Linked DNA regions of Homo sapiens: regions 1, 3, 4 and 5 are each linked to region 2. Evidence: promoter capture Hi-C in human tissues and cell types (Jung and others, 2019). All regions are on one chromosome and are shown on one strand. The core of a region is centred on a gene start or on the middle of the fragment in contact, and the rest is flanking DNA. Distances in the headings are between cores, read along the strand shown.

What was found. Contacts are between HindIII fragments. The study calls those that stand out against the background at their distance.
Region 1: a fragment that was not itself captured here is called in contact with the fragment with the promoter of DYRK4 in region 2 in 1 of the 25 tissues and cell types used here (dorsolateral prefrontal cortex).
Region 3: a contact is called between a fragment that was not itself captured here and the fragment with the promoter of DYRK4 in region 2, in 4 of the 25 tissues and cell types used here (H1 embryonic stem cells, mesendoderm cells, neural progenitor cells and 1 more).
Region 4: a fragment that was not itself captured here is called in contact with the fragment with the promoter of DYRK4 in region 2 in 1 of the 25 tissues and cell types used here (mesendoderm cells).
Region 5: a contact is called between a fragment that was not itself captured here and the fragment with the promoter of DYRK4 in region 2, in 1 of the 25 tissues and cell types used here (H1 embryonic stem cells).

Annotation. Positions count from the first base shown.
Region 1 is chr12:4,328,357-4,331,188 of GRCh38, reverse strand. All of the region lies in intron 1 of TIGAR (TP53 induced glycolysis regulatory phosphatase), which reads right to left. Among named protein-coding and RNA genes, the nearest start is that of TIGAR, 8.6 kb to the right of the region's middle. The HindIII fragment of the contact is 8,404 bases long and covers 1-2,832 here.
Region 2 is chr12:4,560,936-4,563,744 of GRCh38, reverse strand. It overlaps DYRK4 (dual specificity tyrosine phosphorylation regulated kinase 4), which reads right to left and starts at 1,537. Exons shown (of 15, transcript NM_001394779.1): 1 at 1,462-1,537. The coding sequence starts at 1,499. RefSeq lists a silencer at 1,408-1,702. The HindIII fragment of the contact is 2,169 bases long and covers 1,084-2,809 here.
Region 3 is chr12:4,383,498-4,386,322 of GRCh38, reverse strand. No RefSeq gene overlaps it. Among named protein-coding and RNA genes, the nearest start is that of FGF23, 5.2 kb to the right of the region's middle. The HindIII fragment of the contact is 5,845 bases long and covers 1-2,825 here.
Region 4 is chr12:4,308,744-4,311,443 of GRCh38, reverse strand. No RefSeq gene overlaps it. Among named protein-coding and RNA genes, the nearest start is that of TIGAR, 11 kb to the left of the region's middle. The HindIII fragment of the contact is 5,918 bases long and covers 1-2,700 here.
Region 5 is chr12:4,751,566-4,754,265 of GRCh38, reverse strand. The region is part of intron 6 of GALNT8 (polypeptide N-acetylgalactosaminyltransferase 8); the gene reads right to left. Among named protein-coding and RNA genes, the nearest start is that of GALNT8, 33 kb to the right of the region's middle. The HindIII fragment of the contact is 4,171 bases long and covers 1-2,700 here.

The sequences.
Region 1 (2,832 bases), core at 80-2,579, 230 kb after region 2:
TAAAAATATCATGTGAAACTTGTAACACACTTCATAATCCAACCTGTAAAAACAATTTATTCTAAACTAATATTTGCAATTGTCTTCTTTAATGAAGAGCTAAGAATTTCAAACTACTCCAAACTAAAACGTGTAGATCAGGAACCAATCTTAAGTGAATTGCAGGTGGAAAATCCTACTAAAAAATATAATGCAAATAACATTTCAGCCAAATAATTTTGTTAAAAGAAATATATTGATCAAAACTACTCTTACTGGCAGCAGGAACAAAAACGTGAGAGTCAGTCTATTCATTGCTGGACTGAATGAGCAAGTGAAAGAGAATCTGAATGGAATGGGAGAGACGTGCACAAACCTTCAGAACCCCCTGCCTTCTCTTAGTTCCTAGGTCTTCAGCAGTTATTTTTTGTAGTACTGACAGCTATCTCGCAGACCAACTAACTGCACACTGAACTGAGGTTTGAGTACTACACTTTTAAAAACTAAAATACCAAAACAAATCAAAGCAATCTGAACCAACCGGAAGGGTAAAAGAACTGGAAACTTTGTCAGAAAATAACTGGGGTTACTGAGGCTGGAGGGGGAAAAGGGCGGGAAGTGCATGGGCAAGACTGGACAGACAGCAGGATAGGTTAACAATAATGCAACTTTCAAATACATGAAAAGTAGAATCAAAGAGAATTCAGCTGAAATTTCTTTGAGCACTAATTAAATGTTTGCTGACCCAACCTACCACTAGAATTGCTGGGCCATAAGGTATGCAAATACCAGCTTTATTAGGTAATGCCAGTGTCATAGCAGGTTACACCACCCTGTAGTGTGGTGTACCACCCTCAACAAGATTCAGTGATGGAAGGTTTCTTCAATTTGTACCAATCTGGTACCTGAACAATTCATCTCACTTTAATTTTAATTTGCATTTCCTTGATTTCGATGGAAAATGATCGCTCCATTGTTTTTAAGTGAAGCACTAGTTTATAATAATTAAAATGTCACATAGGACTGATTTACTCAGATCTAGAAAAAAAAATCTACCAGACCTGGAAGTCAGAATCACAAACTCAGGCCTCATCCTGGAATCTTGCCGCTTGTTTACAAAAACAGCTGTATGCCAACCTCTGCCAAGATACAGATTGCTGGATTTGGCCAATATGAATGTTCTTTAAGACCCAACACAAGACTGGTTCTTTTAGGTAGTCTCCCTCCCCAGTACCATTCCCCATCTACCTACTCTATTTAATACCCACACTCTATACTCCCATGGTCCCCTGGCACTACCAACATAAGTTTTCATCTGTGTGCTAATTGACTTTTTAGCTCTGTGTCTATCCTGGCTCCAGTTCCTTAAAGGCACAAGCAGGGATTGCATACCCTCAACATGCCCAGGGCCTGGAGAAAATGCTGGGAAATGACAGAACTTCAGTGAATGTGCTTTTACCTAGGGAGGGTCATCTGGAAATACCTATCAAAATGACAAATCTGTTTACCCTTTTATCCAATAACCCAATTACTGGGAATAACTGAATTCACTCATATTTAAAAGATTATTTGTGGCCAGACGTGGTGGCTCATGCCCGTAATTCCAGCACATTGGGAGTCCGAGGTGGGTAGATCACGATGTCAGGAGTTCAAGCCCAGCATGGCCAAGATGATGAAACCCCATCTCTACTAAAAATACAAAATTTAGCCATGCGTGGTGGCGGGCGTCTGTAATCCCAGCTACTCGGGAGACTGAGGCACAAGAATTGTTTAAACCCGGGAGGCAGAGGTTGCAGTGAGCTGCAATCACACCACTGCACTCCAGTATGGGTGAGAGAGCAAGACCCTGTCTCACAAAAAAAAAAAAAAAAAAAAAAAAAAGATCATTAGCTACAGTATTATTTCTAATAGCAACAGATTATAAACAACCCAAATGTCCATAACTCATTCCTTAACTATGGCCAGAATAACCATTATTTATATTAACAAATAAACAGTGACATATCTACCTAATGGAATCCTATGTAAATGTGTCCTTTAAAGAGAGAGATTATATGTAAAGATATGGAATGCTCACCAAGATATATGATTAAGTAGAAAAAGCAGGGTATAGAGTAATATAAAAAGAAAGCTACCCTTTTAGAAAGGAGGGAAATAAACATCTGGATCTGCACAAAGAAACAATGGAAGGATAAACATGAAACTAATAAATGTGGCCACCTATTGGTTGGGGGAAGAATAGGAAGACTACGGAGAATTGTTTTGATTTCTAAATATGTAGATGTATTAGCTTAAAAAATAAACGTATGATAAAGAAATAAAATTACACAGAACTGGCCAGGCACGGTGGCTCACGCCTGTAATCCCAGCACTTTGGGAGGCCGAGGTGGGCAGATCACGAGGTCAGGAGTTCGGGACCAGCCTGGCCAACAAGGTGAAACTCCGTCTCTGATAAAAATACAAAAATCAGCCAGGCATGGTGGTGAGTGCCTGTAGTCCCAGCTACTCGGGAGGCTGAGGCAGAAGAATCGCTTGAACCTGGGAGGTGGAGGTTGCAGTGAGCCAAGATCATGCCACTGCACTTCAGCCTGGGCAACAGAGCAAGACTCTGTCTCCAAAAAAAAAAAAAAATACATGGAACTATTTATACCTTGGTAAAAAACCAACAGCACTGATTTGCCATTATCATTGTTGTTAATATTAATAAAAGATTACCTAGGCCACATGCAGTGGCTCATGCCTGTAATCCCAGCACTTTGGGAGGCCAAGGAGGGCAGATCACCTGAGGTCAGGAGTCCGAGACCATCCTGGCCAACATGGTAGAATCCTGTGTCTACTAAAAATACAAAAATT
Region 2 (2,809 bases), core at 288-2,787:
CTCTCCCTTGCATCTCCTCATCTCCAGGCATTCTGTGAAGTTTTTTCAAACCTCTCTTCATGTGATGGCACACCCAGGCCTGACAGAGAGAGCCTGCCTTGTGGTTGTTCCTATTTTCCAGTTCTTTGTGATCTCAAAGTAGCTACAGTTTCTAGAGTCTGGATTATGTTCTACTCATTGCTAAGTCAGGCAGCACGACCATATTCTTTGATGTGGTCATTGCATTTCTATGAATGCAGCCTCCACCAGCATTTGCTCTTTGGGGAGCCATCACAACACACTCACGATGGGCTTAGAGTCAGCTAAAACCACTAAATCCCAGCACTGGGTCCTCCACACGCTTGAGGACTATGCATTCTAGCCAAGTTGCAGGCAACAATATGTGGAGTTGGAGAGGGCAAAGTCAGGGAAGAGTGGCTGGCATATTGCTAGAGAGTCCCTTCCGATTTACCTCTGCTTTCTCCATAAGGACCAAAACAAACAAGAGAAACAACAGATTTAAGTAACAGAAACAATAAGGTAGAGTGCATGTTTGAAGAATTTCTTCGAACTCCTAGGTTTTACATACCGACCACATGTAGGTGATCAAATCGCTCAAGCAAGACAAAGGACATTTTCATTTGTTGTTTCCACGGTTTGAACTTTTCCACTAAATGGCCTCCTGCTTTTGCCGAGTCTCCACTTAAGCCTGGACAGTGAAGCTTGAATTAATATTGGTGATGCTGTCCGTTGCTTAAGACATGTCAGAGGGGTCACGGTTTTCCTAAGCTTTGAGGGGCTGCTGGACATTTCAAATGCAGCAAATGTCACAGAATAGCCTTTAAAAACCCTCAAATTGTGCATTGTTCATCTCTTTTTTAAGGAAAGATTTGCTAATATTGGGAATTTCCTGAGTGGCAGCTCTGGGTGTGTGATCTACACACACCTTCGCGCGCTTTTGTGTCAGGGGCTGGGCCCTGGTTGAGCACAGAGGTGCCCGGGCATATGGGCTGGGTGGGAACATGAGTAATGCCTGCCAGAGCCTCATCCACGCGAGGCGTGTGGTCGTGGACCCACTTACGACTACCAAGAGGACATGCAGTAAAGAAGAGAAAGAAAGGGAGGAAGAAAGTCTGGCGTCCCAGTGAGGGCTGGAAGCACAGTTCCAGGATAGGTCTGCTGAGTTCCTCAGAACCCCTCGCTCCCTGTCCTGCACTCAGCTGGAGTCGCCGATGCGACAGCATCTTAACATGGAAGTATACTGACGTCGGATTCCGGGGATGCAGCTGCTGCAAAAACTACAACTGTATTTTCTTGTCCGCGCACCACAGCCCGCCTCTCTCTGACCCACATTCCCCGGTCAGCTCTTGCATTCTGCACGCTTTTCATTCTCCCCCCACGACCCCGTCGACCAGAAGCTTCGTCGCCTGCCTCGTACTCGCGCCTGACTGCTCGTGAAGTACGAGCCTCCGCGGCCCTTACTTTGTTCCGGTGCGGATAGGCGGCGGGAGGAGCTGCATGAGGCCGGCGCTGACCGCCCGCCGCTGCGGGAGGCTGTGAGAGCCCGGCAGAGGGCAAGGGACGGCCACGCCCTCCTCCCGTCGCTATAGAAACGGCTCCCGCCCTTTTTATGACTCCAGAGCTGGAAGGGCTTTCTCAGGCTGTGGTCCCAAACCACCTTGCAGAGTAGCAGCCTGAAGAACATACTCCTCGTCCTCCTACTCGCATTCTCTTGCCCCAGTTCTTTAAAGTATAGGGCAAGAATTGAACAAAATCCCAGCATAAAGAACTTAAAGTTGGTTGCCCAGACCGGACACATGAAATTATCCCTACTCTCTCCCCTTCTTCAAGCGAAGCATGTGGTTATCAGAATTACATCACAGAAGTTCTGGCCGGGCGCGGTGGTTTTACACCTGCAATCCCAGCACTTTGGGAGGCCTAGGCAGACCACTTGAGGTCTGGAGTTCGAGACCAAACTGCTCAAAGTAGTGAGACCCCCCCGCCCCTGTCTCTATTTAGACATTTTTTTCTGTAATCCCAGCACTTTGAGAGGCCAAGGCGGGTGGATCACGAGGCCAAGAGATCAAGACCATCCTGGCCAACATGGTGAAACCCCGTCTCTACTAAAAATACAAAAATAAGCGGGGCGTGGTGGTGCGTGCCTGTAGTCCCAGCTACTTGGGAGGCTGAGGCAGGAGAATCGCTGGAACCCGGGAGGCGGAGGTTGCAGTGAGCCGAGATCGCGCCACTGCACTCCAGCCTGGCGACAGAACGAGACTGCATCTCAAAAAAAAAAAAAAAAAAGAAAAAAAGAAAAAGAAAAAGAAAAAAAGTAAGTACATAGCAAAAGTTCTGGGTAAAATCCATATATCAGCTGAACACTTTTTGAGTGCTTACTCTGCACCAGATTGTAGAAAGCATGAAAAGGGAAATTTGTAATTGAGTGGCAGTAGGTTGACCTGGAGGTGCACAGTCTGGTCCAGGCAGAAAAGACATTCAAATGAAGCTTTCTGAAAGAGCTGAGTTGAATCTGAGTCTTCAAGGACAGGCAGTAGTTGTCTACGTAAAGGAGGCAAGTCCTATTCTGAAGGCCAGAGCCATAGAAAAGCTTGGTACCATTGTGCCAGCACCCAGTTTAGTGGGGCAGGGATCAAAGTTGCACGTGGGCAGAGACAAGGTTGAAGCAGCAGGAAAGGGGGAGTCAGACACCAAGTAGGCTATGAACTCGACCAGGGTAAGGTGTGTATGTGCAGACTGCAGAGGGGTGTTCATGCTGACTTTATTTTATAAAACCCTCTGTGGCAATAACAATGGAAGTAGGCCCGAGTAG
Region 3 (2,825 bases), core at 16-2,515, 180 kb after region 2:
TGCTCTGTATTAAGTTCAAAATAGGTTGCAAATTTTATATTACACGTTTGAAAATCGTAGCTTATTTTCCAAAGGCTTCGGTAAATAGCACTTCTATGCCCATCCTTGTCACCTTGTCATCAGCAGTCATTACCAGCTATCAGTGGCCATATTTATAAATTAACAAGTGTGGTCTTTATGAGATCACTGCAAGTGTGGAGATTTATTGGCCATAGTGGCAGAAGTGAAAACTATCACAGCTGAACCGTGGAGAAGCACCGCTACATCTTCTGTGGATTCAAACCCCTTTCCAAGCCTTGATGTCCCCCCGCTGCTGGAATTCCAGGCTTCCTTGCCCATTGGAGAAGGCTGCCCTGAAGACAAGCCCTCCCGTGGGCCTTTATTTTGGAAAGGCTGCCATGACAAAAATAAGCTGGAAATTTTGTCTTGGGGAGGAGAAATTGAACATGTCATTTGGAGGGAAAGAAGGGAACTGGAGACTGATTCTATGGGAGGTATTGGTTCTAGACTAAAAGGGGGTAAGTTCTTGATGTGGCAGAGAACTGCGGTAACCCCAGCCACCAGTGCCATCCCATGCAGGGCCATTATTATATGTATATGTGTGTATGTATCTGTTTATATGTATGTATGCACATGTATATAATGGGTGTGTATGTGTATATACACATACATGTAAACATAAAGTCCTGTGGCCTTGGGAACCACCACAAAAGCCTCTGGGGCAGAGCTTGGAAGGAAATGAAGCTTTCAGAAGAGCTGACCACTTTCAAATACAATGGAATGGAATAATTTAAAAGAATGAGGTAAAGATATGCATACTGACCTGGAAAGGTGGTCAAAATAGACTTCAGCGGACAAAGTGGGTATATATTATATACGGTATGCCCTCAATTTTGTCTTTTAAAAGTGCGTATTTTTCTGGCTGATAGATGCAAAATTTTTTTTAAATTTTAAAATAAAAGTGCATATTTAAATATATATACTTATATATAATATACACTTTAGTATTAATATATAATGTTAAATATGTACCTATTTAGAAATACATAAATATAAATATATACATATTTTATTAAATATTTATTAATACATTATATATTTTATTAACATGTATTATTGGCAATATATTAATGTATTTTATTATATTAAATATAATATATATTTTATATATATGCCCTAAAGCTATAATTTGTCTTTGATAACATTTTACCTCTAGAGGTTACAAACTATATTGTATATTCACTTTCTACTTCATACATTTCTGCATTGATCTACTTTTTAATAAAAACAGATTTTTTAAAGTCATGTTTTTTTTCTCTCTTTTCTTTAAATTCCTACGATAACAGAATGTGTGTATCAGGAGCCAGGATGCTCTTGGGAAAGTCGTCCCCGACACCCCCCAGACCTGCCCATAGGACTGTTTTGAGCCTCAGAAGAGACAATAGATATGAGTGTACTTTATGGGCTGTGAAGTGCTAGACAAATACAAAGAATATTCTGCCTAGTAGATTGCAAATTCCCTGAAGATCAGGACTGTACCTTTTCATTCTCAGACTTCTCTAAAGATTTTCTACAAGGTAGTAGCCATATAACAGGCTTTCCATAAAAAGTTATGTGTTGATTGCTTGGATGCATTAAAGCAAGAGAGAATCAGATTGGCTATAGGGAAGCACATTTTTGCTGTCAAGATGACACTGGGATGACATTTTCAGATGAGATACAGGAATGGCACCTCTCCAGAGAACTTCAAGAAGCCAAAAAAAAAAAATTTTTGTTCTAGATGGCTTAGATATCCATCTCCCTGAACGCTGGAGGTCTGGACGACATGTAATGCTCTGAGAAAGCAAGAGGGCAGGGACACCGTTACTGAAATGGTGGAGACAGACTCAGGAGGAGTGAAGGGACAGGGAGCAGAGGCCTGCCAGGTCCTTCCAGGATCTCAAAAAGAAAAGAAGGCTGCAAGCCACCGTGAGATCACCTTCTCTCCTATCTCCCAGCTTTTTTTTTTACCTTGATTCCTCTGACATTTTTTCATCATAGCTAAGGACAATGAAGTTGATGTTATTGTTTGAAAATTATTGCCCAGTCTTTACTTTGAGTGAACATGATCTGGGTGAGAATCTTCTTCAGTACCTTCTCAGAGCAGATGCTGATAAAAAGAAGTCAGGAGATGAAGGAAAGTAATGAACTTGCAGGAATACTTTTTTTTTTTTTTTTGACAGGGTCTTATTCTGTCACCCAGGATGGAGTGCAGTGGTGCAATCTCAGCTCACTGCAACCTCTGCCTCCCAGGTTCGAGCAATTCTCCTGCCTCAGCCTCTCGAGCAGCACGCTCGAGAGGCACGCACTCATGCTCGGCTAATTTTTGTATTTTTGTAGAGACAGGGTTTCACCATGTTGCCCAGGCTGATCTCAAATTCCTGACCTCAGGTGATCTGCCCGCCTCAGCCTCCCAAAGTGCTGGGATTACAGGCATGAGCCACTGCGCCCAGCCGGAATACAGATTCTTATAGGCCCTTATCTATACTAAGAGCCTTGATTCTATGAGCGTAAATGCAGGGACTAGACTTGATGCTTCCACACAGCTCCCGGGGCAAATTCTCTTAATGCCAGAGAAGTGGGTTCCAAACCAGGCTGGAGACAACAGGTTTCCCTGCCTGCCATGGGACCAGCCTATCTGCTGCATTCAGGTAGCTACCTGGGAACCAAGGACAGTGACGTCCAAACAGCACAAACCCAGGGCCTCCTCCCTGGGCTTCCTGTTCACAGCTGGTATCTATCTGTGTTTCTCTTTGGGCTCCTAAGGTCACACTGGTTCCCAGACC
Region 4 (2,700 bases), core at 107-2,606, 250 kb after region 2:
CTGTCACAATGATTGTATGTAATACAGAAATGTATGATACAGTCCATAATATTCCAGGCAAGTAGCAAGCACTGGGGGGGACATTGGCTAGAAAGGCCAATCCTCTTGTTCTTGCCAGAGCCCTGACAGAATGCTAAGGAAAAGAGAAGACCGCTAGGCCCTAAAATCCTAGGTGTCCTGGCCCTAATACCTAGGCAGTGCCATATGGAAGCAAATCTTCCATAGTCCCTTCATGATGAGCTTACAGTGACATATGAAAAACATAAGTGAGTGACTGCTTTTAAAACCTGTGGTGCTTCAAGATTTTCTGAGGGTATTCACCAAGATGTCCAGAGGCTCACAGAGCTGAGCAATGAATGGAAGCCTGCAGAGGCCAGCAGTTGTCCTTCATTGTTCATTTGTACATTGCTGGGTGACCCTCAGTGTGGCATTCACCCTTGCAGGGCCTCAGGCCATTGCATCCATGGTAAAATAATATTTTTGGAAATATTAATCAGCATTTTTTCCTACAGTATTTTTCCTCTACGTTTTTGGGCCCTTCCTCCTGTGTCCCTTTTTTCGGGGCAAGGAAGGTGGCCACGAAAAACCAAGAAAAAGAATATCTCTTCCTATAGGATAACAAAAGGAATCTTTAAATAGCAAAGGCTTGGGAGGCTGATGATACAAGCAAGGCTTCCCTGCCTCTGGACTGAGATTCTCTGGGCTTGGTGGGGGAAGGAGGGAGCGTTGGGGGAGAAATAATAATAACACAGATATTCGTGGGTCCCTGAAGAATAGGGACAAACTAGATATGTGATTTTGTTTGTTTGTTTGTTTGTTTGTTTTTGTTTTTTTTTTTTAGATGGAATCTTGCTGTGTCACCCGGGCTGGAGGGCAGTGGCGCAATCTCGGCTGAATGCAACCTCCGCCTCCTGGGTTCGGGTGATTCTCCTGCTTCAGCCTCCCGAGTAGCTGGGACTACAGGCACATGCCACCACGCCCAGCTAATTTTTTGTATTTTTAGTAGAGATGGGGTTTCACCATGTTAGCCAGGATGGTCTTGTTCTCCTGACCTCATGATCCGCCCACCTCGGCCTCCCAGAGTGCTGGGATTACAGGTGTGAGCCACCGCGCCTGGCTGTGATTCTTGTTTTAATTGACATAGGTTTGGGGATTTGGGAGGAAAGCAGAACCCATGGCTCCTTCCCAGGAGTTTATGAGCAACGCATTTATAACCTGAATGGAATGAGCATGAAGAACAGCCAAGGGGCAAGGCAAAGACGCTGGAAAGAAAAGGCTACTTCCTTGGTGTACATTCACTGACAAACTCCTCCTTAGATGACAAGGCCCTTTACTTTCTTCATTGACTTTGTCTTCATTAAAAAACTATCCCCTGATGATTTCACTAAGTGATGTCATCATCCAACCCCCCCCACCCCCTGCAACCTTCCTGCCCACACTGGGCTAAAAGTCTCACTCTTTCAGCTCAATGCTCAGTAAGCAAAATATGGATCAATAAAGTAGCCCAGTGTAGCAGAAGATGCATGATATTTGAATTCAGACACATCTGGGATCCAGTCCTAGCCTAACTCTTTGTGATAAGCCAAGTGAGCCGTGTGACCCTCCATTCACTTAGCTACAAAACAAGGTACCAAATTCACCAGAGTTATAAAAGGATTATAGGAGAGGCTTGTGGAAAGCTCTTTCAAAACTACAAAACCCCATTTCACAGATGAAAAAACTAAGTCACTGAGTTTACTGTGAGTTGCTGGGTGGCTAAGTAATGAGCCCAAGGTTACAAAGCGAGTGGGTGGCCGGGGGGGCATTCCAGAGCAGAGCATAGAGCACTTGTATTCTGGGCCAACCACCAAGTAGCAGTTGTCTTTTTATCTGTCTCTGTCTTTAGCCTTTGAGATCAAGGAGAGCAGAGATCTCATCCCTGGAAAAGCAAGTACTGAGACACATTTGTTGAATGAGGGGTCCCATACGGAGCACCAGGCACGTACCCAGCCCTCATTTGTTGAATAAACGAGCAGTGCCCAGGAGCCCTGTGTGGGAAGGGGATGATGAAGAGTAGCGATTTTCAGTGAATGGGTTGACCGAAACATAGCCACAGAGATTTGCACTTTTTCAACAAATATAGAAATCTCACAGGTTTGTCTTCTCATGGAATCTCCATGGTGCCAGGAGCACTAAAAATGACTCTCCAGACAAACAAAAGCAGGAAAAGCTGTCTGGACACAGTGGCTCACACCTGTAACCCAGCACTTTGGGAGGCTGAGGTGGGAAGGATCTTTTGAGGCCCAAAGTTTGAGAGCAGCCAGGGCAACATAGTGAGACACTGTTTCTATAACACATTTTTTAAAACAATCTAGATGTAGTGGTGCATGCCTGTTGTCCCAGCTACTTGGGAGGCTGAGGTGGGAGGATCACTTGAGCCTGGGAAGTTGAGGCTGCAGTGAGTTGTGATCACGCCACTGCCCTCTAGCCTCAGAGACAAAGGAAGACCCTATCTCCAGAAACAAAAGAAAAGAAAACCAAAAAACAAAAAGCAGATCTTTACCACCCCACCTTATTTGGGCCTACCTGCAGACCTGGGCGTGGGGCTGAATGTTGGGATCTCAAAGGAATTTCAAAAATCTGGCCCAGCCCCGGGGTAATCTGATAACTAAAAACTCATAAAGACATAAAGAGATCTTAATGCTTACTGAGGCAGTACGG
Region 5 (2,700 bases), core at 119-2,618, 190 kb before region 2:
GCCTGTGTCCTGTGTCCTGGCTTTGCCACCTACTGATTGTAGAGCACCAGGGTCTCAAGGGAACATAGGAAGTACACAGTGAGTGGTTACAGCAGGCCTTGAGTGAGACCCAGTTCTGTGCTACCTTCAGGTCTGACCCAGAGCAGTCACAGTGGCGGTGGTCACGGGGTTGCTTGTGTCACTCCACCCCCAGCTTTAGGTAGCTCAGAACAGAAAGAGAGATAGACTCCATTTGTTTGGGAGACGTAAGGGAAGAGAACAAGGGTCTCTGCCTGGTAATCCACAGGATTCTCCCGGATCTTATCCAAGACCATCAAGGTGGTACTTCTATGAGTCTGGAAGAACCACAGCATTACTGGGCTTGGGGTGCCCCCTAAAGCAGGTACAGCTTAGACCATAACACCCATGTCTTTTTGAATATCTGGAAAGCCTTCCCAAGAAGGATGGGTACAAACAAGCCTAGACAGTAAAGACTACAATAAGTAGTCTTTACTTAGAATAAGTAGACTAACTCTTCAATGCTCAGACACAGAAGAACATTTACAAGTATCAAGATAATTCAGGAAAACATCATCTCACCAAATGAATGAAGGGACCAATCCTAGAGAAACAGAGACAAGGGACCTTTCAGATGGAAAATTCAAAATAGCTGTTTTGAGGAAACTCAAAGAAATTCAAGATAATTAGAGAAGGAATTCAGAATTCTATCAGATAAATTTAACAATGAGATGGAAATAATAAAAAACAATCAAGCAGAAATTCTGGAGCTGATAAATGCAACTGGCATACTGAAGAATGCACCAGTATCTTTTAATAGCAGAATTGGTCAAACAGAAGGGAGAATCAGTAAGCTTGAGGACAGGCTATTTGTAAAATACATAGTCAGAGGAGACAAAAGAAAAAAGAATACAAAGCAATGAAGCACGCCTACAGCATCTAGAAAATAGCCTCAAAAGGAAAAATGTAAGAGTTACAGGCCTGAAAGAGGAGGTAGAGAAAGAGATAGGGGTAGAAAGTTTATTCAAAGGGATAACAACACAGAACTTCCCAAACCTAGAGAAAGATATCAATGTCCAAGTACAAGAATGTTACAGAACACTAAGCAGATTTAACCCAAAGAAAACTACCTCAAGGCATTTAATAATCAAACTCCCAAAGATCAAGGATAAAGAAAGGATGCTAAAAGCAGCAAGAGGACAACGTACAATGCAGCTCCCATACTTTCTGGCAGCAGACTTTTCCATGGAAACCTTACAGGCCAGGAGAGAGTGACATGACATATGTAAAGTGTTGAAGGAAAAAACTTTTACCCTAGAACAACATATACAGTGAAAATATCCTTCAGACATGAAGGAGAAATAAAGACTTTCCCACAAAAACAAAAGCTGAAAGACTTCATCAACACCAGACCAATCCTACAAGAAATGCTAAAGGGAGTACTTCAGTCAGAAAGAAAAGGATGTTAATGAGCCCTAAGTAATCATCTATAGGGATAAAATTCACTGGTGATAGTCAGTACACAGAAAACCACAGAATATTATAACACTGTAACTGTGGTGTATAAACTACTCTTATCCTAAATAGAAAGTCTAAATAATGAATCGATCAACAATAATAACTACAAAACCTTTTCAAGACATAGTACAGTAAGATATAAATAGAAACAACAAAAAGTTAAAAAGTGGGGGGACAAAGTCAAGGTGTAGAGTTTTTATTAGTTTTTTTTTTTTTCAATTGTTTGGTTGTCTGTTTATGCAAATAGTGTTAAGCCATCATCATCTTAAAATAATGGATGATAAGATAGTATTGCAAGCCTCATGAAAACCCCAAACCAAAAAACATACAACAGATACACAAAAAAATAAAAAGCAAGAAACTAAATCATATCAACAGAGAAAATCACCTTCACTAGAGGAAGACAGGAAAGAGAAGAAACAAGAAAGAAAAGACCACAAAACAATCAGAAAACAGATAACAAAATAGCAGAAGTAAGTCCTTTCTTATCAATAATAACATTGAATGTAAATGGACTTAACTCTCCAATCAAGACATAGAGTGGCCAAATGAATGAAAAAACAAGACCCACTGATCTGTTGCCTATAAGAAACATACTTCACCTATAAAAACACGCATAAACTAAAAATAAAGGGATGGAAAAAGATATTCCATACCAATGGAAACCAAAACAAAGCCGAGTAGCTATATTTATATCAGGCAAAATAGATTTCAAGACAAAAACTATAAGAAGAGACAAAGAAGGTCACTATATAATAAAAAAGGGGTCAATTTAGCCAGAGGCTATAACAATTTTAAATATATATGCACCCAACACTGGAGCATCCAGATATATAAAGCAAATATTATTAGAGCTAAATAGAGAGATAGGCCCCAATACAGTAATAGCAGAAGACTTTAACATCCTATTTTCAGCACTGGACAGATCTTCCAGACAGAAAATCAACAAAGAAACATCAGACTTAATCTGTACTATAGACAAAGTGTATCTAATAGATATTTACAGACATTTCATCCAGTGGCTGCGGAATACACTTCTCCTCAGCACATGGATCATTCTCAAGGACAGACCATATGTTAGGTCACAAACAAGTCTTAAAACATTCAAAAAATAAAAATAATCGCATGCATCTTCTCTGACCACAGTGGAATAAAACTAGAAATCAATAACAAGAGAAATTTGGG